Linked DNA regions of Homo sapiens: region 2 is linked to region 1. The links are contacts of gene promoters, found by promoter capture Hi-C in human tissues and cell types (Jung and others, 2019). All regions are on one chromosome and are shown on one strand. Each heading gives the region's core, a stretch centred on a gene start or on the middle of the fragment in contact. The rest is flanking DNA. Distances are from core to core; before and after follow the strand shown. Region 1 holds the start of ST6GAL2 (ST6 beta-galactoside alpha-2,6-sialyltransferase 2). Region 2 overlaps LINC01885 (long intergenic non-protein coding RNA 1885).

Region 1 (4,920 bases), core at 1,809-4,308:
TATTAGGTATAACATGTCAGGCACTGGGGGAGATGCTTTTAACACATGCTCTCTACTTACAACAAACCTTGAAGATAGATACTATATAATTTTTTTTTTTTTTTTTTTTTTGAGAGGGAGTCTCTCTCTGTCACCCAGGCTGGAGTGCAGTGGCACCAGCTTGGCTCACTGCAACCTCCGCCTCCCAGGTTCAAGCGATTCTCCTGCCTCAGCCTCTCGAGTAGCTGGGACTACTGGCGCTTGCCACCACGCCCGGTTCATTTTTGTATTTTTAGTAGAGACAGGTTTCAACATTATGGCCAGGCTGGTCTCGAACTCCTGACCTCGTGATCCGCCCGCCTCGGCCTCCCAAAGTACTGGGATTACAGGTGTGAGCCACCGCGCCAGGCTGAAGGTAGGTACTATTACATCCATTATACAGAAGAGAAACAGAAGCCCACAGACTTTGCAACCCCCTCTGCGCCCCTCTACTATTAAGAAGGTGAGTCTTTCTGCAGTATTTCCTTTCTCTATCCCCACCAGCTATGGGTCTCTATCAGGTTGTTTGTTTCTGTTTTGTTTTGGTCACTTTTAACCACACTGTATGTATTTCACATTTATAAAATATAATTTTTCTTTTTTTTTTTTTTTTTTTTTTTTTTTTTTTTGAGACGGAGTCTCGCTCTGTCGCCCAGGCCGGACTGCGGACTGCAGTGGCGCAATCTCGGCTCACTGCAAGCTCCGCTTCCCGGGTTCACGCCATTCTCCTGCCTCAGCCTCCCGAGTAGCTGGGACTACAGGCGCCTGCCACCGCGCCCGGCTAATTTTTTGTATTTTTAGTAGAGACGGGGTTTCACCTTGTTAGCCAGGATGGTCTCGATCTCCTGACCTCATGATCCACCCGCCTCGGCCTCCCAAAGTGCTGGGATTACAGGCGTGAGCCACCGCGCCCGGCCATAATTTTTCTTTTTTTAAAAAATATCTGTGTAACACATTGTTCATTCAGGCAGTTCCGCAGAATTCCATGTGTCAGACATAATTAATACAATTGGGGAAATACTGAGTAAGCGTTTTCGGCCCACACTTTTGTTTGAACACAGTGCATTATACCCACTCGATTTTAGTTTAATTCCCGTGCTGTTTTACATTTCTGTAAACTCTTTGAGGGAGTTCTGGGCGCCCACTGTCTAGCTCAGAGTTCCAGGCTAAGGTAGGCACTAATGAATGCTGAATGAATTGGGTAGCCAGTTAATTGCTTTTTCCCCCCTAAAAAAAAAGTCTAAATTACTTGAATAAAAGTATTTGCGGATTTTTAAATAATACATTTAATGGCAGATCTCTGTCTCCAAAACGTGTGTCCTTCTAGCGACTGAGGGTGTGGGGTGGGGTGAGGGGTGACTAACCAGTCCCCCTGAGATGGGCCCAACCTTAGCAATATTATCCATCTACCTGGGATTCCCCTACACCTGAACAGCTCTTTGGGTCCGCGAGAGAACCAGCGGGGTGGGGCACCCAATGCCAGGAGTGCGCGCGGAGAGACACGCTGAAGTTCACAGGAGAGTATTTACCAGCAAACAAAGGGCGGCGCGGTTTGGGGTCCTAGGACCAGCTGCCGCCGTCTCGAGAAAACGCAAGGGCCGCGGTGACAAGTGGACATTCCGCACGCGACCAGACCGACACTCGATGGGCACCTCCCCGCGGCCCCGCCCGCAGGCTCCAGCTGCCCAGCTCGCAGCCGCCCACTGGCTCCGGAGGCTGCTTCAACCACTTGTCCCGCCGGCTTCTACCCCAAGAACTTTCCGTCCCTCTTGGGGTTGGGGACCGGCAGTGTGGAGGGGCGGGCAGGTGGGGGTCTCCAGGGAGCACCGTCACCGGACTTGGCGAGCTACCCTTCCCAAATGAAAGGTGGCCCGCTCCCAAGTCCATCCCATATCCTTAGAGAAGCTCTGGGAGCGAGGGCCAGGCGGCAGTGCGGAGCCTGGTTGAGCGAGATGAACAAAGGGAGCTAGCGAGCCGGGGAGGATGCTGCGCTCCCCTGCGCCCCACCCAGCCGGCTGCCAGGCGCTGCCAGGCGCGCAGGTAGCCCGGCCTTCCGCGCTGGCGGGGGGAGGTGTTGGACAGGGTACACAAAGACTCACTTCCGCCGGGGCAGGCGCCGGGACTCCCTCCTGGCCGCCCACAGCCTGTGCGCATTCCTGCATTCCTGCCGCCGCCCGGGACCCGAGTGCCCCGGAGGTGTCCAGGCGCGGTGCCAGGCGGGTACTGTGCAGGTAACCTTCGGAAGAACTAGGGCTGGATGGAGGCGGCGGCCGGGGAGAAACACGCCTTTTTAGGCAGCCGTGCTGCCCCGCACCGCCCCACGCAGCCCAAGTCTGCAGTCACTCTCCGCGACAAGCAGAAATCCGCGCGCAGCCAGGGAGCGCCCCGCCTGCGCTCGCCGGCGGGCCGAGCTGCCGGGCCGGGGGCGCGGGGAGGGGGCAGCCCAACTTCCCAGTGCCCGGCTCCCGCCAGCTAGGTGAGCCTGGAGCGGGAAGGATGAAAGGGATCGCGGAGAGGGAGGGGGCTCTGGGGCGAGCGGAGCTCGGGGGCGGGGCGCGGCGCAGCCTCGGTGCGTGGGCCGGGAACCGCCGCCTCTCCCCGGGGCTCGGGGCCGCGGTTCCTCTGGCCGCGGGAGCCGCCGCCGCGCTGCCCGAAACAATGAGGCGTGCAGCGCGGGGCTGAGCGTAGCCTCCCGCCGGCTTTGAGGCCGAGCCACCCGCTGTGCCCCGCCGCCCGCGCTTGCAGCTGCCGCCGGCGCGGAGCAGCGCTGGCCCCGGAGAGGTGATCCCGCAGGCCGCCTGGGACGGGAGCGCGGGGCAGCTCCGAGACCCCACGGTGGCAGGAGGAGGACTCGAGCCTGCGGCAGGACGACTCCCGCCGCGCACTCGCCTTCTGCAGCCCCCAAGTTCCGCGGCGTGAGTCGGGGACCCCGGCCAGGGTCCCAGCTCTAGCGGGCGCCAGCGTGAGTGTGGGAGCGCGTAGCGCGCGCACCCGAGCGGCTGCCGGGGAATAAAATGTGACACGCACGCCTTGGACTCCAGTGCCGCGCTGCCAGGGGGAGCACCGAGCACCACGGTGTCGTGCGCTTCGAGGCGCGGCGTGGGAAGAAGGCTGGTAAGGGAGGGCACTGGGTAAGGGTTGGCGACGCCTTTCTTGGTGGCGCTGCAGCCTCCGCGCTGCTGTGCGCGGAGTTACACTCCGTGTTTAGGAGCGAGACCCGTGTGTGGGGAATGTTGAAGGTGGTTTGGGGAAAAGCAGGAAATTCTGGAGAAGCGAACGGGAGGACGGCTTGCGCTTTGGGGACGGGCGGATACAGTTGTGCCCCTGTGGCTCAGTAAAGGTGATCTTTTATTTTGGCTCTTTTGGCTCTGGAAGGGAGTGAAGATTTTTGTCTTTCTTCAGCCAACCCCCGTACAAAACTGCACTTCTTAAAGGTTAAAGTGTGTTCTGTTCATTTCTGGTTCTCTGTGGCTATAATGTTTGGGGTAGTAGGGATCTTTAGAATCCTAAATACCCGAGTGTTAATTCTTATGTAGTTGGCAGGCGGCAAACTCCGCTTTTGGGTTTACTTTCCGCGGTGTTACGGAGTGGATATTTGATGCATTCTTTTGAGTAGGGAGTGTGACGTCCATCTCATTCGGATTTGCCGGTTCTGTGTTGGGGGACTGAGTGAAGTTAAACTCAATGGCTCCCGCAAGTGCTGCCTTCCAAAGAGCTGAATAGCTGTGTTTGGAGAAGCTGTGCTTTCCAGGAATTTAAATGAGACTTTTTGTGATTGCCTTCCAGGTCTCTCCTCCTAGTACCATATTTGTTTTGTCAGGCTGAACTTTCAAAGCTGTTTTGTAATCTGAGAAGCACTTTTGGGGGGAAAGTAATGCTTGGCTGGATTTTTGTGAACTTATTTTTATTGGACATGCGAAAAATTTGGCGAGAGGCAAACCATATTTGGTTGAAATCATTGTCTTTTGCACCACTGCCGTTCTGACCATAAAGGGGCATGCTGACCCTCCTCGCCGAGGACTGCCTGCTTGGGTGAGGGGGGTCTTTGGTGGGCTGGAAGCACATTTTGTATTTAGAGAACTTTCTGCACACTTGAAAAACCCCATGCTGGTTACTTTGATGCTTCCCTTTTTTGAAATTCTGATCAACATTTTTTGCCAACTTGAAATATAATTTATGACCAAGGAAGAATTCCAATAAAGTGAAGTGCTATATATATATGATGTATATGTATATACATACACATATGTATATATGTGTGTGTGTGTATGTATATATATATATATATATATATATATATGCGCTGCAAATTTAGGGTTAAAACTTTTTTTAAAAGGAAAACTGATGTGTGGCCTTGAACCTGTTTTTACCCACTCTCCTTCCCCCATTATTTTTCTGGAACTGACAACCAAAATTTTTATATACCACTTGAGGAATTTTGTACTAATGCATTAAAAGAAACTGTTGGCAAAGGTGAATGGATATTGTGCTCAAAACTGATGAAAGTCTAAAATAATAGGTGAAGTGCCTTGAATTTTACTGCAAAGTTAAAAAGGCACTCTATCCAATTTTTGCCGCAATAGATACAAATGGTAGCATCTTACATTTTTGCTTGGTGCTGTGAAAGCTTCTGGAGTTTTGAGTTAAATGTCTTGTAGAGATTGTGATAGGAGTCACTGCTTTATATGGAGTACTGAGCTCCACAGTTTAGAGAGGCTTTGGATGGATACTCCTGGAAAGAGTGAGGTCAGAGCAAGGACCAACATTTGGTGAGTTTGCTATGTGGTGCACAGGATCTAGGAAGCAAGGATACAAAATTCAGGATTTTTAGACTAGAGGATTCAAAGTTGAGACAATTTAACATTTGAAAATATGTGAATGATTTATTATGCAGAAGAGGGC
Region 2 (5,146 bases), core at 2,143-4,642, 540 kb before region 1:
GCATCTTTCCTCATGAGTCACCTTCCCTACAGCAATGTCCCTCCTTGAATCCTTTTACTGCCCGACTTGGGACTAGCTGCCTATGAGCTACTGCACAGCTGCTGTACTGGAACATCCCTTCATTGTTGACTGGATTGACTGGATCTCAGCCTAAATTCCATGCCATTCTCTAGCCTTTGTTCAGGCTGTTTATTTCTCTGAAAGCGCATAAGTAACCTCCTAAGAAAGAGTGTCTGAGAAGTAAATTTAAAACATACAGTGAATCTGAAAATATCAATACCTCACACTTCAGAAAAAGTTAGCTACATACATTTCCAGGATAGAACTAATTTTCCCCTGAAACTTGGGAGATTTTGTTTGTTTGTTATGGAGTTTCACTATGTCACCCAGGCTGGAGTGCAGTCATGTGATCTCAGCTCACTGCCACCTCTACCTCCCTGGTTCAAGCAATTCTCCTGCCTCAGCCTCCCGAGTAGCTGGGATTACAGTCACACACCACCACACCCAGCTAATTTTTGTGTTTTTAGCAGAGACGGGGTTTTGCTATCTTGGCCAGGTTGGTCTCGAACTCCTGACATCAAGCAATCCACCCACCTCAGCCTCCCAAAGTGCTGGGATTACAGGCATGAGGCATTGCACCCAGTGGAAAATTGGGTGATGTTTATCCATTGTTTGTAACAGCCAGTAGTTTTGATGTAAAGTCAGCTGCCAGTCTGATCACCACTTTTGTGTAGGTTTTGTAGCTGACTTTTTCTATTTTTCTTTTGGAAGGTTTTAGAATGATTTCACTATTGCTGTTATTTTGAAATTTGTGATGAGCTTTTAGTCTGATTAAGTTAGGAATATTTTTTCTTGCACAGAGAGAAACAAATCCAAACCCAGATTAGCTTGACCAATAAAGGGATTAATATGCTCTGATAACAGTACAATTTGGATGACATGGATGCCAGCATGCTCCTGTTTCTTTCTGTGTCTCCACTCAGCCTTCCAGCATCAGTTCACTGTACCAAGTTGGCTGCCAGCAGCTCCCTGCTTCCTTGTTTGAGTTTAGCATTACTTATTAAAAGCTAACTTATTTGTTCCAGCATTCCCAGTAAAACTTCTGGGAATTGAAGTTGCCTAAGTAGCATATACACTTTTGAACCAATATTTGTAGCCAGTGGGATGACATATCCTACAAGGTTTAGTAGCTTTATGTCTGAGGATATAGTTTACAGATGGTTCTACACAATTGGCAGGAAGCATTTGAATATGGGCAGCTGCAGCATTACAGCATTACAACATCCCTGAAGGACAGTTGTGAAGAAAATCCTCCCATTGGGAAGAACTTTGGGCAGTGCACCTGGTATTCACTTTGTTTGGAGAGAGAAATGGGCAGATGTGCAATTATGTACCAGCTTATGGGCTGTGACTAATGGTTTGGTCTAAATGGTCAGGGACTTGGAAGTAATATCTGTAGAAAACTGGTGACAAAAAATTTTGAGAATATATATGGAGATAGATCTCTCTGAACAGAAAAAGAACATGAAGATATTTGTGTCCCATGTGAATACTCACAAAAGGGTGACCTCAGCTAAGGATGATTCTAATAATCAAGTGGCTAGAATGAGCCACGCTGTGGATACAATTCAGCTTTTTTCTCCAGCTGACACTGCCATGAACAAAGTAGCCTTGGTGGCAGAGATGGGATAAGGAAGGTGGACTTCCATAAATCAAGGTAACATGGTTGTGGCCACTACTGAGTATGCAATTTGCCAGCAAGAGGGACTGAACCCCCAATGTTAGATCATTTCCCAGGTGATCAGCCAGCCGTCTGGTAGCAGGTTGATTACACTGGGCCACTTCCATCAAGGAAAGAGAAGTGTTTTGACTTATTGGAAAGACACTAACCCTAGACATGGATTTGCCTTTCCTGCATTCAATGCTTCTGTCAAAGCTACTGTATTGGTCTGTTTTCATGCTGCTAATAAAGACATACCTGAGACTGGGTAATTTATAAAGGAAAGGGGTTTAATGGACTCACAGTTCCACATGGCTGGGGAGGCCTCAAAATCAGGGTGGAAAATGAAGGAAGAGCAAAGGGAAATCTTACATGGCAGCAGGCAAGAGAGCTTGTGTAGGGGAACTCCCCTTTATAAAGCCATCAGATCTTGTGAGACTTATTCACTATCATGAGACTAGCACGGGAAAGACCCACCCCCATGACTCAATTACCTCCCACCAGGTCCCTCCCATGACATGTGGGAATTATGGGAGCTACAATTCAAGATGAGATTTGAATGAGGACAGTGCCAAACCATATCAGCTACCATCCATGAACTTATAAAATGCCTTATTCACCATTATGGTGTTTCACACAGTATTTCTTCTGACAAGGAACTTACTTCACAGCCAAAGAAGTACAACAGGCCCACGATCATGGAATTCACTAGACTTACCATGTTCCCCACCATCTTGCAGCAGCTAGCTTTATAGAATGGTTGAATGGACTTCTGAACACTCATTGGCAGTGCCAGCTGGGTGGCACTGCCTTACCAGGGTGGGCAAGCTTCTCCAGAAGGCTATGTTCTAAATCAGCATCCAGTACATATGTAACTGTTTCTGCCATTGCAAGGATCATGGGTCCAGGAATCAAAGGGTTGAAATAGGAGTGGCACCATTCACAATTACCCCTACTGAACTATTAGACAAGTTTGTTTCCTGTTCCCTGGTTGCTATAGTTTGAATGTGTTACACAAAGTTCATGTATTAGGAACTTAATCCCAAATGCAATAGTGTTGAGAGGTACAACCTTTAAGAGGTGATGAGGTCATCTGGGCTCTGCCTTAATGAATGGAGTAATGTCATTATTTGATAAATGGATTAGTTATCTGGAGAGTGAGTTCCTGACGAACAGATGTGTTTGGTCCTCTACCTCCGCACTCTATTTTCTATGCATGCAGGCACATGTGCTCTCTTGACCTTCCTCCTTTCACCATGGTATGATGAAACAAGAAGGTTCTGCCAGATGTCCTTCGACCATGGACTTTCCAGCTCCTAGAACTATAAGAAATACATTTTTGTTCCTTATAAGTAACCCAGTCTTTGGTATTCGGTTACAGCAGAACAGAACAGACTAAGATACTAACTTTATGCTCTGCTGGCCTAGAGGTTTAAATTGAAAAGAGAGGAATGATTCCACCAGGAGACACTGTAATGATTTTATTGAACTAGAAGTAAAGACTGCTGTCTGGTCATTTTGGGCTCCTCATGACTCTGAGTCAACAGGCCAAGAAGGGAGTTGTGGCTTGAACTGAGGTGATTGATCCAGAATACTAAGGAGAAATTGAACTACTACTCCACAATAGAGATGAGGAAGACATGCCTGGAATACTGAAGATCCCTCAGAAAACATTTTAGTATTATCATAGCCTGTGACTAAGGCAAATAAAAAACTACAATAACTCAATCCAAATAGGACTATGAATGTCCCAGATCCTTCAAGAATGAAGGTTTGGGTAATCCTGCTAGGTAAAGAACTCTGGCCAGCAGAAGTGCTTGCTGAAGGCAAAGAGCAAATACAGAATGGGTAGTGAAAGAAGGTAGTAGAAAGATAAGCCTTGACCATATGTCCAGTTACAGAGATGAGGACTGTAATCGTCATGAGTATTTTCTCTTTATTTTGTTATGAATACATTTGCATATACATACACATATTATGCAAAATGTCATTATTTTCTTTCCTCTCTTTTCCTTCATCATGTAACATAAGATACATTGACTTTATATCAGTATTTAAATATTGTTAATTTTACATCATAGTATTTAAATATTGGATATTGGAAGAAGAGTAAACATCACGCCTCTTCTTGGGAAAGAATTAGCACACTTTTGGTTGTATGGGATAGTTTATTATGTTAGGTGGAATTATGATTCTGTTATTTTCTCTATTTGGAGGTTGATTGTTGTTTCAGAAAATGCATATGGGTACGAAGTTTACAAGGGGTGGACTTGTGATGGTAGATTTTATGTGTCAACTTTACTGGGTTAAAGGATGCCCACATAGCTGATAAACAGCTATTTCTGGGTGTGTCTGTGAGGGTTTCATTTGAATAAGTAGACTGAGTAAAGATTTCCCTCATCAAGGGAAATGGGCTTCCTTCAATTCATCAAGGGTCCAAATAGAACAAAAAAGGCAGAAGGAAGGTGAATTTTCTCTCTCTGAGCTGGGACACCTATCTTCTTCTAGCATTATATGTTAGTGTTCATGGTTCCTAAGCATTTAGATTTGCACCAGGACTCACATGATTGGCTTCCCTGGTTCTCAGGTCTTCAGACTTGGACTGAATTACAACCCCACTTTTCCTGGTTCTTCAACTTGCATATAGTAGATTGTGGAACTTCTGGGCCTCCATAATCTCACAAACCACCTCTCTGGAGAACTCTAATACACATCTTAATAATGATGTTAGCTGTTCCAGGAAATATTCATCATTCAGGCTCTTAGATTAGATCTTGCCCACTCCTGAGTAATTGGTTCATATCTTGTTCTTGTTAATTGGTAGGTCTGAAGGTCTATGTTGGAATTGTGCTCCAATTTTGGCTTCTACACATACTGGAAATATTTTCTCTCTTCCCTCAATTATATCTGAGTTTGCAGTGGTAGAGATTCTTATATTATCCATTTTGTTTATACTACTACCTACAAGCCAATCAGTACAAATGTCAGTTCCCACAAAGGTAACATATTTGCTCTCCAAGTGACAAAGACAAACTGTGATCAGAGCTGCAGATTTGAAAGGCTCTGAGTGAATAGATGTATTCCTTTCCTTAAGAGTGTAAATCTAAACTTCTCACATTGATGCATTTGTATTTTTAGACATGTTCCAGAATACAAACTTGTTGATAAAAGCCTATTTTTAACTTTTACATAGGATATGCAGGTATGAAAATAACAGGAAAAAAGTTATTCCCTATGAAGAGATTGCTAGGTGTTTCCTTTCTTACTTTCCAGTACTCTTTTTTATCGTTTTCAAGAATGAACCCTACAAAAACATATTTGAAAAGTCAGTTTCAACTCAGTCTCTGTGTTCAAAAGATGAACTTTTTAAAAAGTTCGACAACCATGGGCATGGCTAAAATCTATAGCTGAGGGATGATTTGTATT

What was found. The method cuts DNA at HindIII sites, captures the fragments that hold promoters and counts their contacts. A contact is called where the count stands out against the background at its distance.
Region 2: a contact is called between a fragment that was not itself captured here and the fragment with the promoter of ST6GAL2 in region 1, in 1 of the 25 tissues and cell types used here (dorsolateral prefrontal cortex).

What each region holds. Positions count from the first base shown.
Region 1 is chr2:106,884,305-106,889,224 of GRCh38, reverse strand. It overlaps ST6GAL2 (ST6 beta-galactoside alpha-2,6-sialyltransferase 2), which reads left to right and starts at 3,058. Exons shown (of 6, transcript NM_001142351.2): 1 at 3,058-3,132. It overlaps LOC124907864 (a long non-coding RNA gene), which reads right to left and starts at 2,692. Exons shown (of 2, transcript XR_007087169.1): 1 at 2,118-2,692. The HindIII fragment of the contact is 7,907 bases long and covers 1-4,920 here.
Region 2 is chr2:107,423,919-107,429,064 of GRCh38, reverse strand. All of the region lies in intron 2 of LINC01885 (long intergenic non-protein coding RNA 1885), which reads left to right. Among named protein-coding and RNA genes, the nearest start is that of LINC01789, 61 kb to the right of the region's middle. The HindIII fragment of the contact is 5,422 bases long and covers 682-5,146 here.